Regions from separate parts of the Homo sapiens genome. Here regions 1, 3 and 4 are each linked to region 2. Evidence: promoter capture Hi-C in human tissues and cell types (Jung and others, 2019). All regions are on one chromosome and are shown on one strand. The core of a region is centred on a gene start or on the middle of the fragment in contact, and the rest is flanking DNA. Distances in the headings are between cores, read along the strand shown.

Region 1 (3,584 bases), core at 573-3,072, 580 kb before region 2:
GAAGTTGGTCGATGGCTGCCGCCAGTCCCTGGCCAGCGTCCTGGGGTTTCCCCGACGCATCCTCTACTGTCCCTTCGCTCTGCACAGAGGCCCGGGCAGGGAGGGGCGGCCCGGCCACCGCGCGGAGCCGGGTGTCCGCCGACTCGCAAGGGGGACGCGCGGGCTCCTCGTCCCCAAGCTCCGCCCTGCGCCTTTGCTGCGCCGGGCCCTCCCAGGCCCACCCTGGCCCCAGCCCTGCTGTCCTCCCGGGGAGGTGCGGCCTACTCGGTTCGTTCCCCCGGCCGCCAGCCCCACAGGGGCGCTGGGGTCCCAGCCTTGGCTGAGTGCACGTCGGTGGCGAGTGGGCCCGGGCGCTCGGGCGGCCAGAGCGACCCAGCGGAGGGGTGAGGCGGGTAGGCGCTCCTGTGCCTGCCACGGCCAGGCCAGGCAGCATCCACGCCCTCCCGCGGAAGATCGCAGGGAACAGGTGGGCACTATCCTCTGTGCCCTCATTTTTCGGAGGAGCCGAGGGAGGCTGAGCGGTTGAGGAAGCGGCCAGCCATGCCGGGCCCACTCACCTGCACACCTGCCTGGCAAGGGCAGGGAAGAGCCGCGGCCTTCCTCTGCTGCTCCTTCCAGAGGGCAGGCGCCGTGGTGGGGGTGCCCGCCCGATGGCATCGCGGGAGGCTGAGCTCCCAGCAGCGGCTGAGGTCCTCCCTGGGTGGGAGCCACCCTTGTCCCCAGCTGGGCCGGCGGCTGGTGAGGGAGGGGGTGATATCCGTGCCACGCCAGCAGGGCCGCAGGCGGTGCAGGGAGAGCTTCAGTCCGGCTGACGTGGCACCAGGGCCAATCTGCTCAGCTAACATTTGCCTTTCAGGAGTCAGATTCCTGACCTGTTTGAACAGAGTTAGGGAGCACGTGGTAGGGCCCAGCCCCAGCCCCGCTGCCCCCATCTGCTTCTTCCCAGTGGTCGAGGCGCTCTGCACCCTCCGCGGAAGGAGGTGTCATTGTTTGCCCTTTCCAAAGAGGGGGATGCAGAGGTGGATGCTGCCTCTCAGGCGTGGGGCTCGCCTTTTGCCGCTCGCGAGTTCAAAGAACCCAAGAGCCAGGAGCCCAGGGCTCGACCCTCTAGGGTCCTCCGAAACCCTGTGGTCCCACCGGGGTGGGCACTAAGCTATGGGAGAGACCATAGCTGCAGAAACCAACCCTGCCCTAGGCATAAAATGCAAGGTCTCTGGACCTCAGGGCAGGGATGTTAGACAGCGGCTTCTGTTGGCTCCTAGGGGTGTGAATCACCACATCACCTGCAGGGGGCGCGGCTGTCTTTCTTCCCCCTCTTCTCCCTAATCCTGAGTGCACGGAGACAGCTCTCAGCAGTTTGTAGCCTGATGTGGAGTGGAGGGTTCCTGCACCCTACACCCGAGCCCATCCAGCCTCTGGGCCATAGACCCTTCCGTTGAAGGCCCAGCCTGCCCCTGAGACGCTGTGTGCCCTTTTTCAACTTCCTTAGTCTCTGAGCATCAGGTCTTCATCTCTAAGATAGAGCAAGATGAGCACCTAAACGTTTCAGGGCTGAAATGGGGTTGCCAGGACAACAAGCATGGCAGGGGCGAATGGGGACATCAGGTGACTGACTGCGAGCCAGCAGAGGCCTCCACCCAGTGCTGGGAGGTGTCCCGCCGGTGGTGGCCATCACTATTCCTGGTGGGGCTTTGCTGCTTTTGCCTGCAGCATCCGCTGGTTTCTCCATTCTCCAAGTCTCTGCCCCTGCTCACACCTGGAGGCTGGACACAAGTGTCACCACTTCCCTGAACCCCCCTAGGTGGGCTGGAATCAGCATCTGGTGCAAAGCTCTGTGACCACTGCTGTACCACATTATGCAGAGCACACAGGACAGGCTGGTGCACCTCCAGGCTGTGCCAGGAAACCCGCTGCCTTTGCGTCACCACAGCCTTGGTCACAGCGTGACCTTGGTGCCTCCGACGGGTCAGCTCCTCCCATTAGCCATGCTGTCCAGCACGGGGGCCGCTGGTGCTTGCTGTGAGACTGAGCTGGGCTCTGAGTGTAAACTACATGGTAGGTTGTGAAGGATGCAAATATCGAATCAATCATTTTTTATTGCATATTAAAATGACAATATCTTGGATGTATCAGATTAAACAAAATACTATTTAATTTTATTTCACCTGTTTCTTTTGTTTTTGACATAGCTGCTGGGAAATGTAAAACTCCACATGGGGCTGGTGTTACATTTCCACTGGACAGTGTTGGTCTAGAAGGCAGGCACTCAGCACCCCTAGCCTGTGCTTATAGCCTCCTATGATAGGGGCCTGAAATGCCAGAGGCTGATGGGTGGACCTGGCTCTTTGCTGACAACTGGCGGGCCAGTGGCGGTCCTCCAGGGAGCCCCCAGCAGAGCAGCAGTCTCAGTGAACGCAGGACGGCCCCTCACTGTGAGCTTCTGCTCCTCTTTCCTACCTGGTGTAAAATAGCAGTGGCGAGTATGTCTGGGTGCTTGTGGAGGTTTACTGGGCAGGCCTGCTCCCTGCCGGACACTGTCCTCAGCCCCTGACACAGACCCTTAGTCCTGGACGCTGAAGCTGGAGGCTTGGCCTGGAGAGAGGAAGGGGCAGTCTCTGTGAGACGGTTAGCTGGGTGGTCCAGGCAAAAAAACATATGAAGGCCTCCAAGGTGGAGAGCACTGACACGGAGCTCTTCCTGGAGGAGGAGGGAATAGGGCTGGGAAGCTGGAATCAGGGGAGAGGAAGCAGATCTGGAGGCAGGGTCCGTAGAGTTTGTTCTGTGGCGTTTGTTCATCAGGCCCCTGCAGGGGTTCCCTGTCAGCATGCCACCAGGCTGGCCAGAGGGTGGGCCAGGCTTCCTCTTCTTACCCTCATAGAGGAGAGGAAGTCACCTCTGTGAGGGGAAGGCCAGACCCCCAGGGCCATGGTGGGCAGTGTGGAGGGAGCTTCAGTCCCACTCACTTCCATGCACAAGGCCTGCCAAGCACACAGCATAGGGTCCGCAAACATGCTCACCACGCTGCCACCCCCTTCCCGTGTTCTACTCACCTCTGAGCCCCACCCTAACCTGGAGTGCTCGCCCGGTGTGCTCGCCAGGGGTGTGCAGCGAGACAGCACTGTCCACTTTCTAGGCCTTCCCAGGGCTGACATGAGGCTGAAGGTGCATCCCCGCCCTGGCACATGTGCCCTTGCTCTCGGCTGCTGGGGAATGGGTCCCACAGCGCCTCCTCCCAGCACAGGCAAAGGCATCTCCTTTTGGGCGCCCACCTGGCTAGCAGAGCACAGGTAAGATGGCTCCAGCAATGGTGGGCTAACTACCGTGTGTCCAGCTGTACTGCAAGCTTCCAGAAGTCAGAGACCCTCAGCCACTACCCAGGTGTTCAGCCTTGGGCAAGCTACCTGGCCTTTCCAAGCCTCTGCCTCCTCCCCTGTAAAAGAAGGTGACAGCCTTGCCCTTTCCCGGCCTCCTGCAAGGACTTCCTGGACCTGACCTCACAGGGTGGCAAGCGTATCCTCCACACCAGGCCTCCCCGGAGGCACAGGGCACATTGACGGCATTGCCAGCAGCCTCGTTACTGCAGG
Region 2 (3,534 bases), core at 576-3,075:
AGAGCAGGGGTGGACCACAGGCTTAGGCCTCCAAACCCCAGGCCCGGCCACAGCGTGCAATCCCATGGCTGATTTCAAACTGCATGGCCACATGGATGACGCTGACCCTGCATTTGGAGCCAGATACCCTCTGAAGGTTCCCTCACCATAGAACTAGGGGTCCCCCAGCCTGGTGTGGCTGCTGGATCAGATCACCAGGGAGGCCAGGGCCGCCGTGGCTCCAAACACCAGCTGTAGGGCTGGAGAATATGGCTGAGGTGGGGGAGCAGTACAGGGAGGGTGGCAGAGCAGCAGGCAGCACAGGGACCGGCAGGAGCCACCGGTGGGCAGGCCTCCCCTGGCAGAACGGGTGCACAGGCCGAATGGGCTGTGGGGCCTGGGGCCCCTCTGGGAGCTTGGCCCCCCAACCCCAGCCATAATACAGGTCCTGTTCCCAAGGCAGGCACTGGGTTGGGGGAGACAGGGGACCATTCAGCAATCTCCCATCACTGCCAACTGGACCGGAAGGCAGGAGAGGAGTGTGCCAGCCATCCCCAGGGACTACGGCCTATGTCCCTCCATGGCATCTGCCATAGTACAGCCCCACTGGGGTGCAGGAGATCCACCCACGCCCCTGCCCATCTTGGCAACAGGGCCAGGTCCTCTTGGGCCACCAGCAGCAGCCCCCGCCTGCCTAGGCCTCAGTGGGGTCAGTGGGCCCAGCCCCCCTGGCTAAGCTGTCACACTGAGAAGGGGGACCCTTTCTTTGAGAAGGAAGCACTTCTGCCTGAGCAGCCACAGACAGGAGGCTGAGGGCCCAGGTGTCCCCAGGTGCGGAAAGGGTATTGGAGATGGAGAGCCCAAGCTCAGGCTTGGTACAGGTTGGGCTCCCGGTGGGTTTTCTGAGTCACCTGCCACCCCCCGGCCCTGGTGGCCTTATGCTGTGGCAGGAGAGGGTCTGGCTTGCCTCCCTAAGCAAGCCCCTGGGCTCACCGCGACAAGCATGAAGCCCTTTCCCTCCAGACCCGCCGAGGCGCCCTCCAGGATCCGGAGTCCACGAAGAGCCGCTCCCCGGTCCCGTCCCTTGTGGGAAATGCACGGGCAGCAGCTGTGGGACTGCGGTTTCTGGCCCGGGCCCGGGAGAGCTACGAGGGTGCCCGGGGGCCGTCCGGAACTCACCTGCGTCCGCGCTGGAGCTCGGTTCCAGCGCCGCGCTCTGGGACCGCTCGGGCTCCGCGGGGCAGGGCGCCGCCTCAGCCGGGGCGCACAGCTGCTCCGGGCTGCGGGCGGCGGCGCTGGGACCGGCCAGAGGGGCGCGCACGCCCAGGGGCAGGGGCTTCCTCTCCAGGACCGTCCGCGGCTCGTCGGCCGGAGCGAACACCAGGCGCTGCGGCGGCGGCGGCGGCTGATCCCCGGGCCGGGCCGGGGCGCGCGTGGGGTCCCGGGGGCCGCCGTCGGCGCTCAGCAGGGAGGTGCGCAGGCCGGCCACGAAGCGCTCGAAGGTCAGGTAGCCGCTGGCCGGGGCCACCTGGCGCAAGCCCTCCAGCACCCCGCGGGGCAGCTCCCGCGCGTCGGTGCCCTGCCAGCGGGACTCGATCTCGCGCAGGTGCACGCAGCCGCGCCGCCGGTCGTCCAGGATGTCGAACAGGGTGCGCAGGCTCTGCAGGAAGGCGCGCGGCAGCCCCTCCGTGCTGGGCGCGGGTGCGGGGGGAGGCACGCGGCCCCGCTCGGCCATGGCGGCCCCGGCCATGGGCGCCCGGGATCGGTCCCCTCGTCCACCCGCGTGCGTCCCAGCGCGGCCCCACGGAGGGGCCGGCCCGGCGAGCTCAGCCCACGGCGACAATAGCGACTACTTTTGAATGGGGCCCTCCTCGCGGCGTCAGCCCTCATTAACATGCGCCGCGGCCATTGGCCGAGCCCGTCCCATCTGCTCTCTGATAGGCTGAGAGGAGGTTTGATTTTTTTTTTTTTTTTCTTGCCGAGTGGCCCTGGGAGGCGCGCGGAGGCCCTGGGCAGGCGGAACCGGATCCCCCAGCTCCTGCTCCACTCTGGCCTCGCAGACCTTCCTTTCTGCCCCGCCCCAGCCCCACCAAACCTCCTGCCGCGGCCAGGCGCTTTCTCGGATCCAGCTGTGGCTGGCTGCCCCGGCCACCTCTCCAAGGGGCGGGGCCTGGCACCCTACAAAAAAACCTGTCTCCAGGTAGCCTCGTGGGGTAAGAATGGGGGGGGGCACCCCCTCCAAAGATCCCACTTTTCCCCTCTAGTTCCCTGGCCGCAAGCACAGGTGACCCTGCGGCCCCCTTCTCTTCCACCAGGAGGGCCCCAAGAGGATCGTAGGCTCCAGCCAGCTGGGCGCTTCCCACTCACAGAGGCCTTTCTGTCCCCACTGCTGCTGGCTCCTCCTCTGGTCCCTCGGGACAGTCTGGCCTGGCCTGCCTGCTGCAGAACAAAGCCACTTTCTCCTGTGTCCCCAGATCCCCATCTAGTGACCAGCTCCCTCTGCCTCTTGCTCTCCTCTCCTCCTTCCCCTGGCTGGACACCTCCTCCAGCTGCTCTCCTGGCTCCCGCAGCCCTGTCCCCCTGCCTCTGCTGTGTTTCCAGCTGGGATCTGGTCACTCTGTCTTCATTTGGTCTGTCCACATGGGAGGTGAGACCAGGCCTTAGCCTGGGTTCTAGCCCTGGGAGCCCATCTCAGGGCTGGCCAGTAGTACCCTCTAGGTTCCAGGGAGGTGTTCAGGGTGCAAACACCCTCCCCAGACAGGCCCCCAATCCGAGACTTGCCTTGGCCCTCTGCGGGTCTCCCACCCTCCCTCCTGGGCAGGCCTCAGCTGGCATACCTACCTGGGTCTCTGTCCTCAGGCCTGAGCCACTGGTGCCTGTGTCTCAAGCTGTAGAGGCATCTTCCCAGGCCAGGGAGTATCCTGGGTCCACTTCTCTTCTGGGTCACTCACTCTAAGTGGGACTCCTTCATCGTAGGGAATGCTGGAAGGACATAAGAAGCTCTGAGCCTGGAGCAGCCCATCAGAGCTTGGTCCTGTAAGCCAGCTTCCCCTTTAATGGCTGGTCTGCTCAAAAACCCAGCACGAGGCCGAGGCGGGAGGATCACTTGAGCTGGGGAGTTCAAGACCAGCCTGGGCAACATAAGGCAACCCTATTTCTACAAAAAGTTTAAAAAATTAGCCAGGCGTGGTGGTGCATGCCTGTGGTCCCAGGTATTTGGGAGGCTGAGGTGGGAGGATCCCTTGAACCCAAGAGGTTGAGGCTGCAGTGAGCTGTGATTGAGCCACTGCTCTCCATCCTGGGTGACAGAGCGAGATCTTGTCTCAAAAACAAAACAAAACAAAACAAACCAGCACAACACGCAAGCCCCCGCCCCCCCATCCCCACACCTACCCTGCTTCCAGCACACCCCTCACCGCCAGTGCCAGGCCTGGGGTCCCTGCACTCCCTCACTTCCAGGCCCCTGTGCCTGGTGGCTCTTCTACCAGGAAGGCCCTTCCCCTCTGCTCCAGGCTGACCGCACTACATCCTTCAGAACTCTGCTCTGGCCCCAGT
Region 3 (3,242 bases), core at 415-2,914, 540 kb after region 2:
GCACCCTTCTCTCTTGTTCGGGAATTCTGCCTGTGCATAGCCTTGGCAGGAAAGTGTCTGGAGCATGGCCAGTTAGACCCACCTCCGGAAACATCGGAATCCTAAGGGAGTGAGCTGGGCCTGGGGCTTCAGGGCCTCTCCCAGCCTGGCCCGGGGGCCCCTCCAGCCTGTGAGCCCCTTTCTCTTTGCTGGGGTGCCAGACTCCTCCTCCCTGACCTGTTACCTTCTACCAACTAGGGATGGCAACATTTTAGTGCTTGACTCCCAGGCTCATGCACGGAAGTACTTGGTCCATTGGGGATCAGTGGCACCTCAGACTCTGCATGTGATGACCCTCCCACCCCCAAACCATGTGTATCTAGGTCCGTCCTCCCCATCAGAGAAGGCCACCCTCTTCACCGGCTGTCCTAGAAAAACTCGCAGCACTGGGGCCCGCACACCCACTCCGTGGTGAGCTGGTCCTTGTCGAGCGACGCCTTCCCTCTCCAGGACTACCCAACCGGTCTCTCCCGCCTTAGGTCCCCTGGGTATTTGAGTCCCACCCCCCGCGGCTCACTCTCTACAAAGGGACCCTTTAAAAAAGATAAATGGGAGTGTGTTCCTCCTGGTTTCAAGTGATCCAAGTCCTCGCCCCACCTGGCCCCCGACCCTTCTGCTGCGGACCCCTGCCCAAGGGCCTCCGCCCAAGTGTGGCTCCCTTGGGCCCACACCCCATCAGGCCAGCAAGGAGGGGGATAGCGGGGGGCGGGGCAGGTGCTGGGACTCCGGGCAGGTGCGGGGAAGGCAGGGGGCGGGGGGGGAAGGGGTTGGGCGATGCAGGTGTTGGGGGCCGGGACAGTTGCGGGGGTAGGCAGGTACCGGGAAGGCGGGAGGGCGGGCAGGTTCCGGAGGGGCGCGACAGGTGCTGGGACGCGAGGTAGGTGCGGAGAAGGTTGGGGGTGCGGGGCAGGAGCCGGGGGTGGGGGTTGAGGCGGGGCAGGTCCTACGCGGCGGAGCATCCCCGCCCAGGACGCCCGCGCGGCCCCGTGACGTTTTTCCGCGACTCGGGGTGAGGGAGACCCCTGGGCGGGACGGGCGGAGGGTGGGGGCGGAGGAGTGGGTTCTGCCCGCAGCAGAGTGCAGCGGGGAGACCTTCCCAGTCTCAGAGCTCGCCTCGGCCCCGCCCCCAGCCCTGCCCCCCGACGGAGACGCGGCGGTGACTCCCTCCGTGGGGGACGCACGGGACGCTTGCGCCTCAAGTCCCTTAAGCGGCGCCCGACGCAGCGCAGCACCTACCCAGCCGGGACAGGGCCAGGGCCGGGGATGGATGAGCGCGGCCGGGGGGCGGGGCAGGGGTGGGGCGGCCGAGGCAGGGGCGGAGCTGGGAAGGCGAGGCAGGGGCGAAGGGCGGGGGCGGGGCGAGGAGGCTGTCAGAGGGGCGGGGAATAACGAGGGGGCGGGGCCACACGGACGGATGGGGCGGGGAATAGGGGCTGGGCCGGGCCTCCGAGCGGCAGTCCGCGGGCTACGGGGCGGCCGGGGGGCTGGGCGGGGCCGTGGGGCGGGGCAGGGCCTGGGAGGGGCCGGATGGGGGTGGAGGCCGGGATTGGGACGGATGGGGGCGGGGCATAGGAGGGGGCGGGGCCGGGCCTCGGAGCCGGGACTCGCGGGCGGCGGGCGGGGGCGTCGCTGCGCGGCTGGCCGGTGAGGCCGCGGCATGGGGCGAGTGCAGCTCTTCGAGATCAGCCTGAGCCACGGCCGCGTCGTCTACAGCCCCGGGGAGCCGTTGGCTGGGACCGTGCGCGTGCGCCTGGGGGCACCGCTGCCGTTCCGAGGTGGGCGCGGGTCCTCGGGGAGGGCCTTTGGCCGCACCTGCGCGGGGCCAGGGCTCCCGGAAGCGGCTGCCGTCGCCTGGCCCCGGGTTGGGCCCGCGGAGTCGCTGTCTTCGCCGCCCGGGACTGCTGGGAAGCGGGCTCGGCGGCGCCGGGGAGGTCCGGGCGGCGCCGCCCTTCCGCGTCTGCCCTTCCTGCCCTCTCGCCGAGGGGCGGCGGGGTCCCGGCGGGGCCTGAAGCGGGTCCACTGTGGAGGACGCCCTGAGCGCGGGCGCACGCAGGCCTGCGACCCTCCCCGTCCGCGCTCGCACCTGCTGGGCTCCTTCCCGCACCCTGGCTCCCGGCGCAGGCGCTCCCGCTGCAGAGCCGCTCCTGGCGCGGGCGTGCGGTCCCGGCGGGGTGCAGACACCTGCTGCGGCTCCCTGCGCCCCCTGCCACCCGCCAGCAGGCCTCGCCGGCCCCCCGCCGAGGTGGACGCCTGGGCCTCGGGGACTGGGTATCGGGTTGCTGCAGTGGCCGCTGGCAGGGCGCCCTGGAGGTGAGGGCCGGCCCGCGAGGTGAGGCTGCCTCTGCCCGGCCCTTGGCTGTGAGTGCCGCGTCCCTGCCGGGGACTTCTCTACCTTGGCCTCCTGTGGGAACCACCTGGGCTGCTTGGCCTGTGCCACAGCCCCTGGACTTGCCGCTGGACCTTGACCGCTGGGCCCGCGCGTGGGTAACAGCACCGATTTTGTGCCTGCTGAGAACCCACAGTCTCTGTTCTGTCCTCTCAGCCTCCTGGGACAGGTGATGGTGCTGTGGCCCTGACCCTGCACCGCCTGAGGCTGTGGGGCCTCGGAAGAAGCCGGGTGGTAGGTGCTTCTGTCAGGCTCCTGGCCCCACTGGGCCTCCTGGGATGACCCCACAGCCTCCCTTCCTCTGTCCCAACCTTGAGTTTGGGGTCTGGGTGGGGGCAGGTGTGGCCGTGGCAGGGCAGAGATAGCACACACATCTCTTGGGTACAGGTGTGGTGTGTGGTGAGGCCGGCTGGATCCTGGTTGAGGGCTGTGCAGGACCCTGTCGTCCTTCCCCTGGCGTGGCCTGGGGTGAGCAGGCCATTGCTTACCACAGGGAAGGGACGGCCCCGCGGTGCGTGACTGGCCTGGGTGTGCAGGCTCCCCTGGCCTCCGGGTGGACGTGGTGGGTGGGTTGAATGCTCACGCCTGTAATCCCAGCACTTTGGGCAGCTGGCCCAAGAGCCGAGGGAGCACTGGCTGATGGTCCTACCTCACAGAGGCTGGTCTGAATGAGGGAGAAAAAGGAGGGTCGTGAGCTAAGGAGTAGGAGATGGGCCCTGATGGGCCAGAGAGCACATGATTCAGGCTGCTGCAAGTGAGGTGGGAGGGTGTACCGGGGCCCCCGGGGGTTTCCCCCAGCCCTGCCTGGGATGGGAAC
Region 4 (3,219 bases), core at 588-3,087, 660 kb before region 2:
CCTGATGTCACCTCGCTGCTACTCTAGGATCAAGACTGAACCCTTGAAATCCCACCCCCACCTGCTCTTTTGGGCTCCAGCTACACCACATAGCCAGTCACATTGACAGTCCCACCAGACACGTGCCTGGCACTGTGTTGGATGGAGACAAGAAGAAAAGGTTGCTGAACTACTCTACCTCCAAAATGTGTCCCGTGGGCTCCTGACGGGCTCTGCTTAGAACATTTCCCCTTTCCATAGCCAAAATCTGCAAAGAAACAATGTCACCCACCATGCTGGCAGGAAGTCTTTATGACCTCACATTTGGTTTTTTTCTTTTGCACATGGAGTCTCCACTGCAGTGGTTCTCACAGTCTAGAGAACTTTTTTTTTTTTTTTGAGACGGAGTCTTGCTCTGTCGCCCAAGCTGGAGTGCAGTGGTGCGATCTCGGCTCCCTGCAAGCTCCGCCTCCTGGGTTCACGCCATTCTCCTGCCTCATCCTCCCGAGTAGCTGGGACTACAGGCACCTGCCACCACGCCCGGCTAATTTTTTTGTATTTTTTGTAGAGACGGGTTTTCACCCTGTTAGCCAGGATGGTCTCAATCTCCTGACCTCATGATCCGCCTGCCTCGGCCTCCCAAAGTGCTGGGATTACAGGCGTAAGCCACTGCGCCCGGTCAGCCGAGAAAACTTTAAAAAAAACACAAGCTCCCAGACTTGTGACCCTGGAGATGGCCTGACTTGCAGACTGGCCCTGGTGTCCGTGGTCTGAAAGCGGCTCCTCAGCAGATTTTGAAGCCCAGCCGGGGCAAGCGCGTCCTCTTGTCTTGTGACAACCCCCGAATGTCCTCAGATCCTGGCATAACCACACAAACACTCCTGCACACCCCGGGCACCCAGCAGCACTTCTGCTTGGGTAGAACGAGGACGAACCAGATCTGGCCACTGCCCGGCTGTGGAGGCAGATGGAATGCTCCAGCTCGGTTTCCAATCACTGCCCACTAGGTGAAGGCACCCCGACTCCAGCCCCACGAGGAAAGCGGGCGGGCTCCTGTGCTCCCCGGGCACTAACCATCCTGTACTGGAACTGTCTGTCTTGGGGGAGGTCTCCCCGCAACCAGACTGTGAGCTCCTAGCAGGGGACTCCGCCTTTGAATTCCGAGTGCCTGGCACGCAGTGAGCGCTCTGCACATTGATGGGTCAATGGACGAGCTCGTGCTGCAGCGGAGGTGCCACACGTGGCGCGGGAACTGGAAGCGTCCCCGGGGCCGGCGCCCTCGTCTCTCACCTGTGTCTCCCACGGAAGCCAGCACCGGGCTGGGCACATAGCACATAAAGGCCGGCCGAATGCCGAAGAAGGGGGAGTCCAGGTCCCTGCCATGGGGGCGCTCACAATTTAGCTGGGGGAGACAAGACCGGCGCTCATAGAACGCTGGAGCTGGAAGCAACGACAACAGCGACTTTACTGCGTGCCGGGGCGGCCGCCGCCCACCTGGACCGCTGGACTCGGCCCCTGCCCCGCTCACCGTCGGGAATGGCGAGGCTCCGGGCTCGGGACAGCGGGGTGGCGCCCGGGCGGCGCTGGTAGCCCGACATCGCCGCCGGCCCGGCGGGGCACGACCTGCCTAGCCCGGCAGCGGCGGCTCCATGGCCCCGGCTCCGCCCGTGCCGCGGCCCGCGTCGCCCGCCCCCGTCGCCCGCCCCCGTCGCCCGCCGCTCGGCCGCCCCCGCGCCTCCGAGCCTCTCGCCGCTGCTTCCGCTCCGAGCACCGAAAGCGCGTGCCTGAACGCCTTGGGCCGTCGGCGAGGGGGAGGGGAAGCCGTGGGCGGAAGCGGAAGTGACGACTGAAGCGGGGCGGAGACGCAAGATGGCGGCTGTGGTGCTGGCGGCGACGCGGTTGCTGCGGGGCTCGGGTTCTTGGGGCTGTTCGCGGCTGAGGTGAGCCAAAGGCGAACCAGGCTTCGGCCTGGGGCGGGGGCGGCTCGAGTCTTTCTGGACGCTCCGTCTTCGGTTTCTACAGGTGACATGGCGCCCGTGGGACGGGCTCGCACTTCGGGACACTGGTGTCCCCGAGGCGACGGGGGCCCTGCCTTGCTTTGCGCCTCGAGCCCGGGGACGCAGTCCCATCTGTCTCTCCTCTCCCCGGCTGCTGGGTCCTCTCCCCCCCTCACTTCCCGGGTCGACGGGCCTTCTCCGAGGCCATGCCTCATATTTGCCCCCGCGCTTCACCTACCGCGTGCTCCTTCAGGAGGCTGAGCCGGTGGGGGCCCAGCTCTGTTAGACCCGCAGGGTTCTGACACCAGGGTCCAGGCTCTCGGTTGCTGCGGTCTGTCCGTTGATCTCTGACGTTTAAGAACCCTTTCCGTACCCACCGCTCCTCCCACCCAAGTGACCGGGCCTGCCTTTCCCCACGCTGGAACTTTGTTCCGACAGCACAGGCGTCGCCCCTCCCCACACAACGAGCGCCGTTTCAGGGGTGCGGAGGTGCTGCCTCCAGGAGATGGATACAGGCTGGAGCGTAAACAAAATATCGGCAGTCGCGTAAATGCTTTGGAGTAAACAAGCAGCCTTTCATGATAGAAAATAGCAGGAAAGACTAGACTGGTGAGGGATAGTCCTCCATCAGGGTGACATTTAAGGGAAGAGCTGAAGAATGAAAGAAGGGGTAGGCATGGGCAAAGGGCAAGCCCTGGAACGGTGAAGAAGCTTTGGGGTTGATGAGTCAAATGTGTTCCAGGAATTGACAAGAATCAGTGTGACCAGGACCTATGGGAGTGTGGGGGTTCAAGAGATGAGTTTGGAGAGGGAGACAGAGGCCAAGTCACACCCCGCCTTCGGACCAGGTTAATAAGGGATATGGCTTTTATCCAAGACTTCGGTGGTGCTGTTGGAGGGCAGAGCTGTTAAGTGCTTTATGTGTACAAACTGCACTTAGAGTGAGTTACTGTTAATAAGCCCTGTTTTTACAGAGATAGCAACTAAGACCCAAAGGACGGAACCAGCTTGCTCCAGGTCCCGTGGCTGAGCCTTTGTTGTCAGCCTCTGCTTTGTCTTCCAAAGTCTGTAGAAATAAGTCCTGTAGAAAGGCAGATGCTCACTTTTAACCCAGACAAAACATAACTAACCGCACCTAACAGGTCATCACAGGTTTGTTGTCTCAAGCCTGTTGTAACTGGGCCGCTTTCTCTGTTTTAGGTTTGGACCTCCTGCGTACAGACGGTTTAGTAGTGGTGGTGCC

What was found. The method cuts DNA at HindIII sites, captures the fragments that hold promoters and counts their contacts. A contact is called where the count stands out against the background at its distance.
Region 1: a contact is called between a fragment that was not itself captured here and the fragment with the promoter of SAPCD2 in region 2, in 1 of the 25 tissues and cell types used here (spleen).
Region 3: a contact is called between the fragment with the promoter of ARRDC1 here and the fragment with the promoter of SAPCD2 in region 2, in 1 of the 25 tissues and cell types used here (lymphoblastoid cells).
Region 4: the fragment with the promoter of PMPCA here is called in contact with the fragment with the promoter of SAPCD2 in region 2 in 1 of the 25 tissues and cell types used here (lymphoblastoid cells).

Annotation. Positions count from the first base shown.
Region 1 is chr9:136,483,909-136,487,492 of GRCh38, forward strand. It overlaps C9orf163 (chromosome 9 putative open reading frame 163), which reads left to right. Exons shown (of 1, transcript NR_172629.1): 1 at 1-2,159. It also overlaps a transcript of SEC16A not described here. Among named protein-coding and RNA genes, the nearest start is that of C9orf163, 2.2 kb to the left of the region's middle. RefSeq lists an enhancer at 1-515 and a silencer at 1-244. The HindIII fragment of the contact is 3,851 bases long and covers 1-3,584 here.
Region 2 is chr9:137,068,732-137,072,265 of GRCh38, forward strand. It overlaps SAPCD2 (suppressor APC domain containing 2), which reads right to left and starts at 1,826. Exons shown (of 6, transcript NM_178448.4): 1 at 1,159-1,826. The coding sequence starts at 1,729. RefSeq lists enhancers at 1-25, 1,988-2,967 and silencers at 1,154-1,203, 1,254-1,303, 1,474-1,883. The HindIII fragment of the contact is 19,800 bases long and covers 1,085-3,534 here.
Region 3 is chr9:137,604,022-137,607,263 of GRCh38, forward strand. It overlaps ARRDC1 (arrestin domain containing 1), which reads left to right and starts at 1,665. Exons shown (of 8, transcript NM_152285.4): 1 at 1,665-1,814. The coding sequence starts at 1,697. LOC124902318 (a long non-coding RNA gene) reads right to left here and starts at 1,317. Exons shown (of 3, transcript XR_007061885.1): 1 at 1,276-1,317. RefSeq lists silencers at 927-2,056, 2,067-2,336. The HindIII fragment of the contact is 21,275 bases long and covers 1-3,242 here.
Region 4 is chr9:136,408,821-136,412,039 of GRCh38, forward strand. PMPCA (peptidase, mitochondrial processing subunit alpha) reads left to right here and starts at 1,838. Exons shown (of 13, transcript NM_015160.3): 1 at 1,838-1,919; 2 at 3,177-3,219. The coding sequence starts at 1,849. ENTR1 (endosome associated trafficking regulator 1) reads right to left here and starts at 1,794. Exons shown (of 10, transcript NM_001039707.2): 1 at 1,508-1,794; 2 at 1,270-1,419; 3 at 179-247. The coding sequence starts at 1,577. RefSeq lists enhancers at 897-1,056, 1,907-1,996, 2,027-2,076 and silencers at 1,417-1,466, 1,607-1,696. The HindIII fragment of the contact is 13,229 bases long and covers 1-3,219 here.